2 separate regions of the Homo sapiens genome follow, and region 1 is linked to region 2. Evidence: promoter capture Hi-C in 16 types of primary human blood cells and fetal thymus (Javierre and others, 2016). All regions are on one chromosome and are shown on one strand. Each heading gives the region's core, a stretch centred on a gene start or on the middle of the fragment in contact. The rest is flanking DNA. Distances are from core to core; before and after follow the strand shown.

Evidence for each region. Contacts are between HindIII fragments. The CHiCAGO score rates a contact against its expected background, and 5 or more counts as called.
Region 1: a fragment that was not itself captured here is called in contact with the fragment with the promoter of STIM2 in region 2 in 1 of 17 cell types (neutrophils); the score reaches 5.7 in neutrophils.

The regions. Positions count from the first base shown.
Region 1 is chr4:26,339,795-26,343,960 of GRCh38, reverse strand. All of the region lies in intron 1 of RBPJ (recombination signal binding protein for immunoglobulin kappa J region), which reads right to left. Among named protein-coding and RNA genes, the nearest start is that of RBPJ, 21 kb to the right of the region's middle. The HindIII fragment of the contact is 9,248 bases long and covers 1-4,166 here.
Region 2 is chr4:26,858,971-26,862,770 of GRCh38, reverse strand. It overlaps STIM2 (stromal interaction molecule 2), which reads right to left and starts at 1,930. Exons shown (of 12, transcript NM_020860.4): 1 at 1,402-1,930. The coding sequence starts at 1,552. STIM2-AS1 (STIM2 antisense RNA 1) reads left to right here and starts at 2,172. Exons shown (of 2, transcript NR_134674.1): 1 at 2,172-2,261; 2 at 2,743-3,147. RefSeq lists silencers at 1,234-1,803, 1,814-2,183 and an enhancer at 2,274-2,373. The HindIII fragment of the contact is 3,345 bases long and covers 183-3,527 here.

The DNA.
Region 1 (4,166 bases), core at 1,396-3,895, 520 kb after region 2:
TGGCCAACATGGTGAAACCCTCTCCCTACTAAAAATACAAAAATTAGCCGAGTGTGGTGGCGGGCGCCTGTAATCCCACCTAGCTGGGAGGCTGAGGCAGCAGAATCACTTGAGCCCAGGAGGTGGAGGTTGCAGTGAGCCGAGACCACACTATTGCACTCCAGTCTGGGCAAGAAGAGCAAACCTCCGTCACAAAAAAAAAAAAAAAAAAAAAAAAAAAAGAAGAAAGAAAGAAGTACAAAAAAATTAGCCAGGCATGGTGACACACACCTGTAATCCCAGGTACTCAGGAGGCTGAGGCACAAGAATCGTTTGAACCCAGGAGGTGGCAGTTGCAGTGAGCTGAGATCACACCACTGCACTCCAGCCTAGGCAACAGCGCGAGATTCTATCTCAAAAAAAAAACAATAAACAAACAAACAACCTGTATTTTTCTGAAATAAAAGTGGGTACATACACTATGCCTTAAACTATTCATATGTATAAGCTGGAAATATGTAGCTTCAAATAACCCAATATTTATATCTTTAGGCAGTAACTAGAGGTAAAGCATCATCTATAAATGCTATTACACACAGTAGCTACTGTGAGCAAAAATATTTGATGACAGAAACCACGTCTATAACATATCTTACAATTTATCTGCCCACATATCCAAATAATATGTTTAGAGATTCATTACAACAGTCAAGCAAAAATATTCCAAATTCCTTAAAGTCATAAGAAGTAAAGATTACCAGAACAGAAACTCTCAGTTTGTGCCGTCCTAACTCGCCCTGCTGAAAAAACAGTCACCCTTAGGGATTCACAATAACAAACACAGAATTCATTGCAAGTGTGGCTACAATTTACAAGCAGCCTTTCATTGCTCCATAAAGGCTCATCATTGTAGAAACTCATCAGTTTTTAAGCCACATCCACAGCTGCTGTCTTAGAATAACAACAAAATTTGACAGCAGAGACTTTAAAATGACATTTATACAACAGTTTTACATAAAACAAAAGTACTCCAGTATAATAGAAAGAATGGATGACATGTAGAATACCAAAAAACATGAGAATCTTGAGTCATTGCTAATAGCAATACCTGTCATTTATATAATGCTAGAACCATTTTCCTAAGCTCCCTAGCATGTCAGAGATACCATTACACTGAAGAAAAGTGAAGCAGAGATACTACCCAAATTAATTAGTGGTGAACAGAATGTGTTTCATGACTAGCAACCTGTGTTTTTTGCACAAACCCTTCTTCCAAAATTGTATAGTGAAACAGGGAGACAAAAAAAATTCCACATAAACCTATTCCCTGTTCAACTTTACTCTCCTGCCTCAGATCTATAATCTGCCTGGACTGAGAGGCTTGTCTGGTTAGTGAGCACACTCAATCATGTGTTGTCAGATGACTAAGTTAACCACGCATGGGAGAAAGGAATGAGGAGGGGAAATGCTAGTAGGATCACCACATACTAAATTACACTATCGCTAGCAGATGTTCATACTACAAAGCAGCAATGGAACTGAAATCTGGAGATACAGGTTTGAATTCCATTTCTCCCACCAACTAGCAGGTAAACTTGGTTAAGTTTCTGTAAAACAAGATAATACTACCTCCCTCACCAAACGATGGCAAGGTCTAATGCAACTAGAGACCTCCTGGCTACTAAACACCACATTCCCTTTTTTTTTTTTTTTTTTGATAACCCAGGTGTTCAGCATTTGTACTAATGTATATACTCATCTTTTCTGTCTTCCCTCCTTTTGATACAGAGCAGTGGTTCTCAAAATGAGGTTTCTGGACCAGCAGCAATAGAATCATCCGGGAACTTGCTAGAAACGCAAATTCTTGGAGTTCCACTGCAGACCTTTTGTGTCAGAAACTCTGGAGATGGGGTCCAACCATCTGTGCTTCAGCAAGCCCTCCAGGTGACTCTGATGCCTGCTGAATTTTGCAAGCCACTGTGAGAACTCTGCTTTGGGCAGCCTAGTTTTGCACTATGTCCCATCCCTTCTTGGCTATTCTAGGATGTTGGACTAGCCAGCTACACTTTCTTCTCTCTTGTCTCAATTTTTACCTTTCTACTGAAACATTATTGACAACATACAAACGTGCTGGTATTTCTCCTTTGGACCCCACAATCCCTTCTAGTTCCCTGTTTCTTTGCATCCTTTTACAACAGACCTCTGAAGGGTTCTTTCTGTCTCCAATTTCTCTCCCACTCCATTTAGGTTTTTGTCTCCGTCACTTCAACAAAACTTAACAGTTCCCTCCACGCAGCTAAATGTAGTGGTCAGTTTTGTTTGGTTTTGTTTTCGTTTGGTTTTTTTTTGTTTTGTTTTGTTTTGTTTTGAGATGGAGTCTCACTCTGTCACCCAGGGTGGAGTGCAGTGGTGCAATCTCGGCTCACTGCAACCTCCACCTCCAGGTAACAAGTGATTCTTCTGTCTCAGCCTCTCGTGTAGCTCAGATTACAGGAGCATAGCACCATGCCCAGCTAATTTTTGTATTTTTAGTAGAGACAGGGTTTCACTATGTTGACAGGCTGGTCTCGAACTCCTGACCTCAAGTGATCTGCCTGCCTCAGCCTCCCAAAGTGCTGGGAGTACAGGCATGAGCCACCGCAGCCAGCCAGTGGTCAGCTGTCTTTTACCACATGTTATCTGACTGGATCACTCCCTTCTTGTTGAGCCATCTTCTTTATTTGACTTCTAGGATACTACACTCCTGTTTTCCTTCCTACCCCACTGGCACCTCTTTCTCAGTCTCCTTTGTAGTGTTTTCTCATTTCACCACATTTAAACTTTGGAGTGTCCAGAATGTAGCCCCTGGGTTTTAGCATTACGTTGCCACCAACACAGATCTTGATGATTATGGCTTTAACTACTATTAATATGTTGATGACTCCCAAATTTTTATTCCCAGCCTTGACCTCTTTTCTAAACTCCAAACTTTATATCCAGCTGTCTCAAAAGACATTTCCTCTTGGGCGTCTAAAAAGCATTTCAAACTAGCACATCTAAAATGATTTTTTTCCTTTATGACACTTATTTCAAGGCTTTCACATGCTACCTTTCTTTCTTTTTTTTTTTTCTTTTGTTTTTTTTTGAGACGGAGTCTCACTCTGTTGCCAGGCTGGAGTGCAGTGGCGTGATCTCAGCTCACTGCAACCTCCGCCTCCCGGGTTCAAGCGATTCTCCTGCCTCAGCCTCCCAAGCAGCTGGGATTACAGGTGCCCGCCACCACGCCCAGCTAATTTATTATATTTTTAGTAGAGACGGGGTTTCACCATGTTGGCCAAGATGGTCTCAGTCCTCTGACCTCATTATCCACCCACCTCGGCCTCCCAAAGTGCTGGGATTACAGGCATGAGCTACCCCGCCCGGCCCCAATATGCTGCATTTCTTACTATCAGCATCATCTCTACCTTGAATTGTTGCAGAATCCTCTTAACTTTTCTTTAGCTCTGCTCTTGTTCTTAGTAAAGTTGCTTGAGAGATCCTTCTCAAGATCGTGCAGTAGCTACTCATCTCAAAATAAAAACTAAGTTCCTCTTTGTCTAAAACCTTGCACATTTTGGACCACCGTTTTATCCTTGACTTCAGCTCTTACTGTTCTTCCTCTTACTACTCTGCTCCAACCTGGCAGGTGTTATTCCTTTTGTGTGGAATGCTGTTCTCCCACATACCCACAGGAATCTCTTCCTCCCTCCACGTCTTTCTCAGATATCACCTCTGTGAGGCCTTCCTTGACCATCTTGCCTGCTTTTTATTCCACCTTTTATACCCTTTCCCTGTTTTATTTTTCTCAGTTGCATGCATCACCTTCTAACATAATGTTAATTACTTTTAAAATTTTGTCTTTACTACTAGCATATAGTACTGGTAAGTAGTATGTACTCAATAGGTATTTGCTGAATGAATGAATGAAATGTTCTTTTTTTTTTTTAGATGGAGTCTTGCTCTGTCACCCAGGCTGGAGCGCAATGGCGTGGTCTCACCTCACTGCAACCTCCGCATCCCGGGTTCAAGCAATTCTCCTGCCTGAGCCTCCCAAGTAGCTGGTATTACAGGCAACCGCCATCATGCCCGGCTAATTTTTGTATTTTTGTAGACACAGGGTTTCACCATGTTGGCCAGGCTGGTCTTAAACTCCTGACCTCAGGTGATCC
Region 2 (3,800 bases), core at 681-3,180:
GACCTATCTTCTCACTCAAACTGTACTATGCTCCTAATACTGATTATTCTATAATCACTTTATCCCAGTTACCCAATTGGTAGGTTTGATGTATCAAGTTCCATTTAATAGGGCTTGATATGCTTCAGGGTAAAGTTAAACATGCTGACCATTATGTTCTATACTCTACATCCTCCAAAGCTTTTAAAGTTTACCAACATCCTTCTTCTCTCTAGAATAGTAAATATCCTATCATAGAAATCAGAGAAACTGCTTGGCTTTAAAGAATACAGTTCCTGAGCACTTGTCAGAGAAGCTGTTAGTAACTTCCAGACGCCCGCAGGACTATCATTTTGGTTAAATTAATCACGGGTCATCTTCTGCCACTTTAAACTTTTTAGTCTTACAATTATTGTAGGAAATCTACAGATCTACTTTAAAAATAAGTGAAATACTAAAAAAAAAAAAAAAAACCATTATTTTAGCTCCATTACTTTTCCCAAAGAAATCATTTCAGGGTCCTTATATAATAACTTTTACTTAAACCACAACTGATCAGTTGTACATAACACCGGAAGGCTTTAAAAAGGATACAATTCTGCACTTAACCTTACAAAACACGTTTCCAAGTTTTCAATTATGAGATCGTTCTATATATTAAAAAAAAGGTGCTAGTGCAGTCTATCAGAACTGTGCTGCCAGCTGCAAGCCCCGAGTATGCTGCACTTTGCAAATTTTAGGTATAATTTCTGGTTACCTGCTGAGGTTTCTACACCCTTTGTCACCCAGTGATGCTCCCACCACCAAACACTTTCCATCACCACTTAAAACGGCCTCCTTCCACCCCGCAAAAAATGCACTGTAAACTTAGGCATTTCTGCATACTAACACGGAACCACTAATATCACTAGGTATTATGGCTCTCAAAGAATCCCCTTTAGCAGGCTCCCCTGGGACGCTGTGCTCAAGCGGAGCTTTGAACCGGTGAGACTCGCTGCCAGCTGCCTTTGCAAAAGCAGCACCAGAGGTAGACTCAATACCGCAATGCTGCTGCTGACTTTTTCTAGCAGCCTCAAAAAAAAAAAAAAAAAAAAAATCAGCCCAGTCCCCTGCAGACCCTGCTGGCACTTCTGCAGCACGAAAGAGAAACCACCGCATTGCTCAGCTTGGAAGATCGGAGAGCCCGACTGAAGGGAGGGGAATCAGTGCCGTCGAGAGGCTCGGCGAGGGCGGGGTGTCGGGGTGAAAAGGAAAGACGTCCGGAGTGCAGGGGACCGCGACGAAGCAGCAGGCAGGGCTCCGCATCGCGCCCTGGCCGGAGCCGCGGAATAGCGGACGTCCGGCGGAGATGCTGACCTCTGCACGGGTTGGGGGTCCCATCGCTGCCGGCCGAGCCCCGCCCGCCGCCCCCCGGCCCCTCACCTGTCATGAGCGCCGGGCTATCGCCGGCCGCCGCGGCGGGAGAGGAGGCGGCAGTTGCGGCAGAGCCAGTCGCCCGCCGCCCGCGGAGGTGCCGGGGCACAAGCTCGCATCCGTCCGCCGCTCCGGCTACCAGCAGCCCGAGCACCAGCAACGCAGCCCAGCGCCGCCGCCGCAGCAGCCAGCCCCACGCTGGGCCAGGAGTCGAGGCGGGATGAAGGCGCCGAGGAGAAGCCGGGTGAAAGCGCAGCGGCGCCCCGGCCGCCTGCAGCTCGCCGGCTCCGCGAGGCGCCACCACCGCCGCCGGCGACTCCTCCGGCCGCCCCCGCCGCCTCAGACACGGGCTCCCGCCGGGCGCCAGCCTGGTCCCATCGGCACCGGCGGCCTCCGGAGCTCTGATCCCGGCTGCGTTCATTGGTTCCGGTTATTTAAAAAAAAAAAAAAAAAAGGTGGGGGGTAGAAAGGTACGGCGTCTTCAGGCGGTGCACGACACCCGCGCTGCTGCTGCGGCGAGACCGGGATCCGCTGCTCTGGCGCCGCCAAACACCAACCCCAGCTCCCGCGCCGCCGCCGCCGCGGCGCATCCCCCCGCCCCCTCCGGCCCGCGCTGGTCGTAGTACCACGCTCCGCCGGGACGCCTCCCTCCCCTCGCACATTCGCTCGCATACCAATCCCCCGCCTCCCTCAGGCTCTCCACGGCGCAGGCGCGGCGCTGCTGTACTGCGCGTGCGCGGCATCCCAGCCCCGCCCCGGAGGCGTTCCTAGACGGACGGTAGTACCGTGGGGCGGCTGATAACGCTTTAGCGAGCCGCGAAGATAGGAGGCGGGGAAGAAGGGGGACGTGTACCTCTCCCTCATTCACGGTACCACCGCGAGGGGGAGTGGGGGGCTACAAGGGGACGGAGAGAAGAGTCCAGACGTCCCACATCCTGAGGGCGAGTTTCAGCCTCGTAGAGGGCAGCGAAAGTAATTGCATGGATCAGGAAAATCTTGCAATCGGAAAACAGCAGCGTCCCCGTAATTTCAATATAGGTGGGGCTTACAAGTGGCTGGCTGTTTAGACGCGGTTAGCATAGCTTAGCGTTTTATTTACTTGCCAAACATTTCACAAAGCGCGTGCTATGTGTGAGTGTACCAGGCATTGCTCTAACCGTTTTACACATTTACATGCTATAACTCCAAAATTATCGTTACCCCCTTTTACGAATGAAGAGACTAAGACCTAGAAATGTGAAGTAAGTTGTCCCCAATATCCCACAGCTAATTCATGGGAAATGAGCGAGATTTAGCAGCCACTGAAAAGGCCTATTTAAGAGAATTTACTTTAGCCTCTGACTCTCCTAGGTACATTTACCTGAACTCATCACCTTCCCACCCCCATCCCATCGACTCTGTGCTGTATCCTGAACCGGCTGACAGAACAATGATGTAGACTTGACTTGTTTTCGCCAACCTGGAATGAAGCAAAGCTCTTGTGCACCCAAGATCTGCTCTCTGTTGTAAATCCTGTTCAGACCTGGTCTAATTGGTTTGAATAAATAAAGAACCGGAATCTTTCTCATCCAAACTAGTTGCCAGCATATTTTTAAGGCCACCTCCCTTCAAATTTAAAAGGAAGTGTTGAATGTACTGTCACTATAAATTAAAAGCCCTGGAAATTCACACGCAAGGAGGCATTCTTTCTCCCAGGGGCACAAAATTGTTTAAAATTTGCAGATAGGGTTATTAAACACGAAGATCCTTTTGCTATTGGGTTTTGTTGGTTTCATTCTGCTTATTGGTTTGTTTGCTTGCTTTCTCAAGCCAAGAAGATACTCAAATTACATTCTCCTAAAGTATTTCTTAGGTAGCCTGGCCAAGATAACCACAAATATCGTTTATTGTGGAAGGGCAGATGCACACTTTAGAAAAGAATCAAGGATGTCTTTGAGGCTAAGTCAATCTATCAACAGTTATTTCTCAGCAGACTTCTTGTGGGCATAGTGTTCAGGTGGCAATTCTTTATAGGGCAACCGGGAGATTATATTTCCCCTGCTGAAAGGCACAGCGATGAAGTCACACCAGAGTGCTGAGTGCCCACCAGAGAAGATAATTCTGCTAGGGGACCAGAACAATATAAATAACAAGCTTGTTCCTGCTCTCCAGGAGGCATTTCATTTATTAAATGTTTACTGAGTACCTAGTATGTGCCAGGCAGAGTACTGAGTGGTGAGGGTTAGGCAAGAGAGACACTTGAAAAAGGCAATTAAGTCAGCAGTCAGGGCTATGAGATAAACAGCACAGTCCCATGACTAAGGCATCTTACAATCTTTTTAAGGAGATAAAATGTACACCCATTAAACAATTAGAGGCTAATACAAAGTAGTAATCAGTTGCTAAATGGTGTAGTGCAAACTGTTACA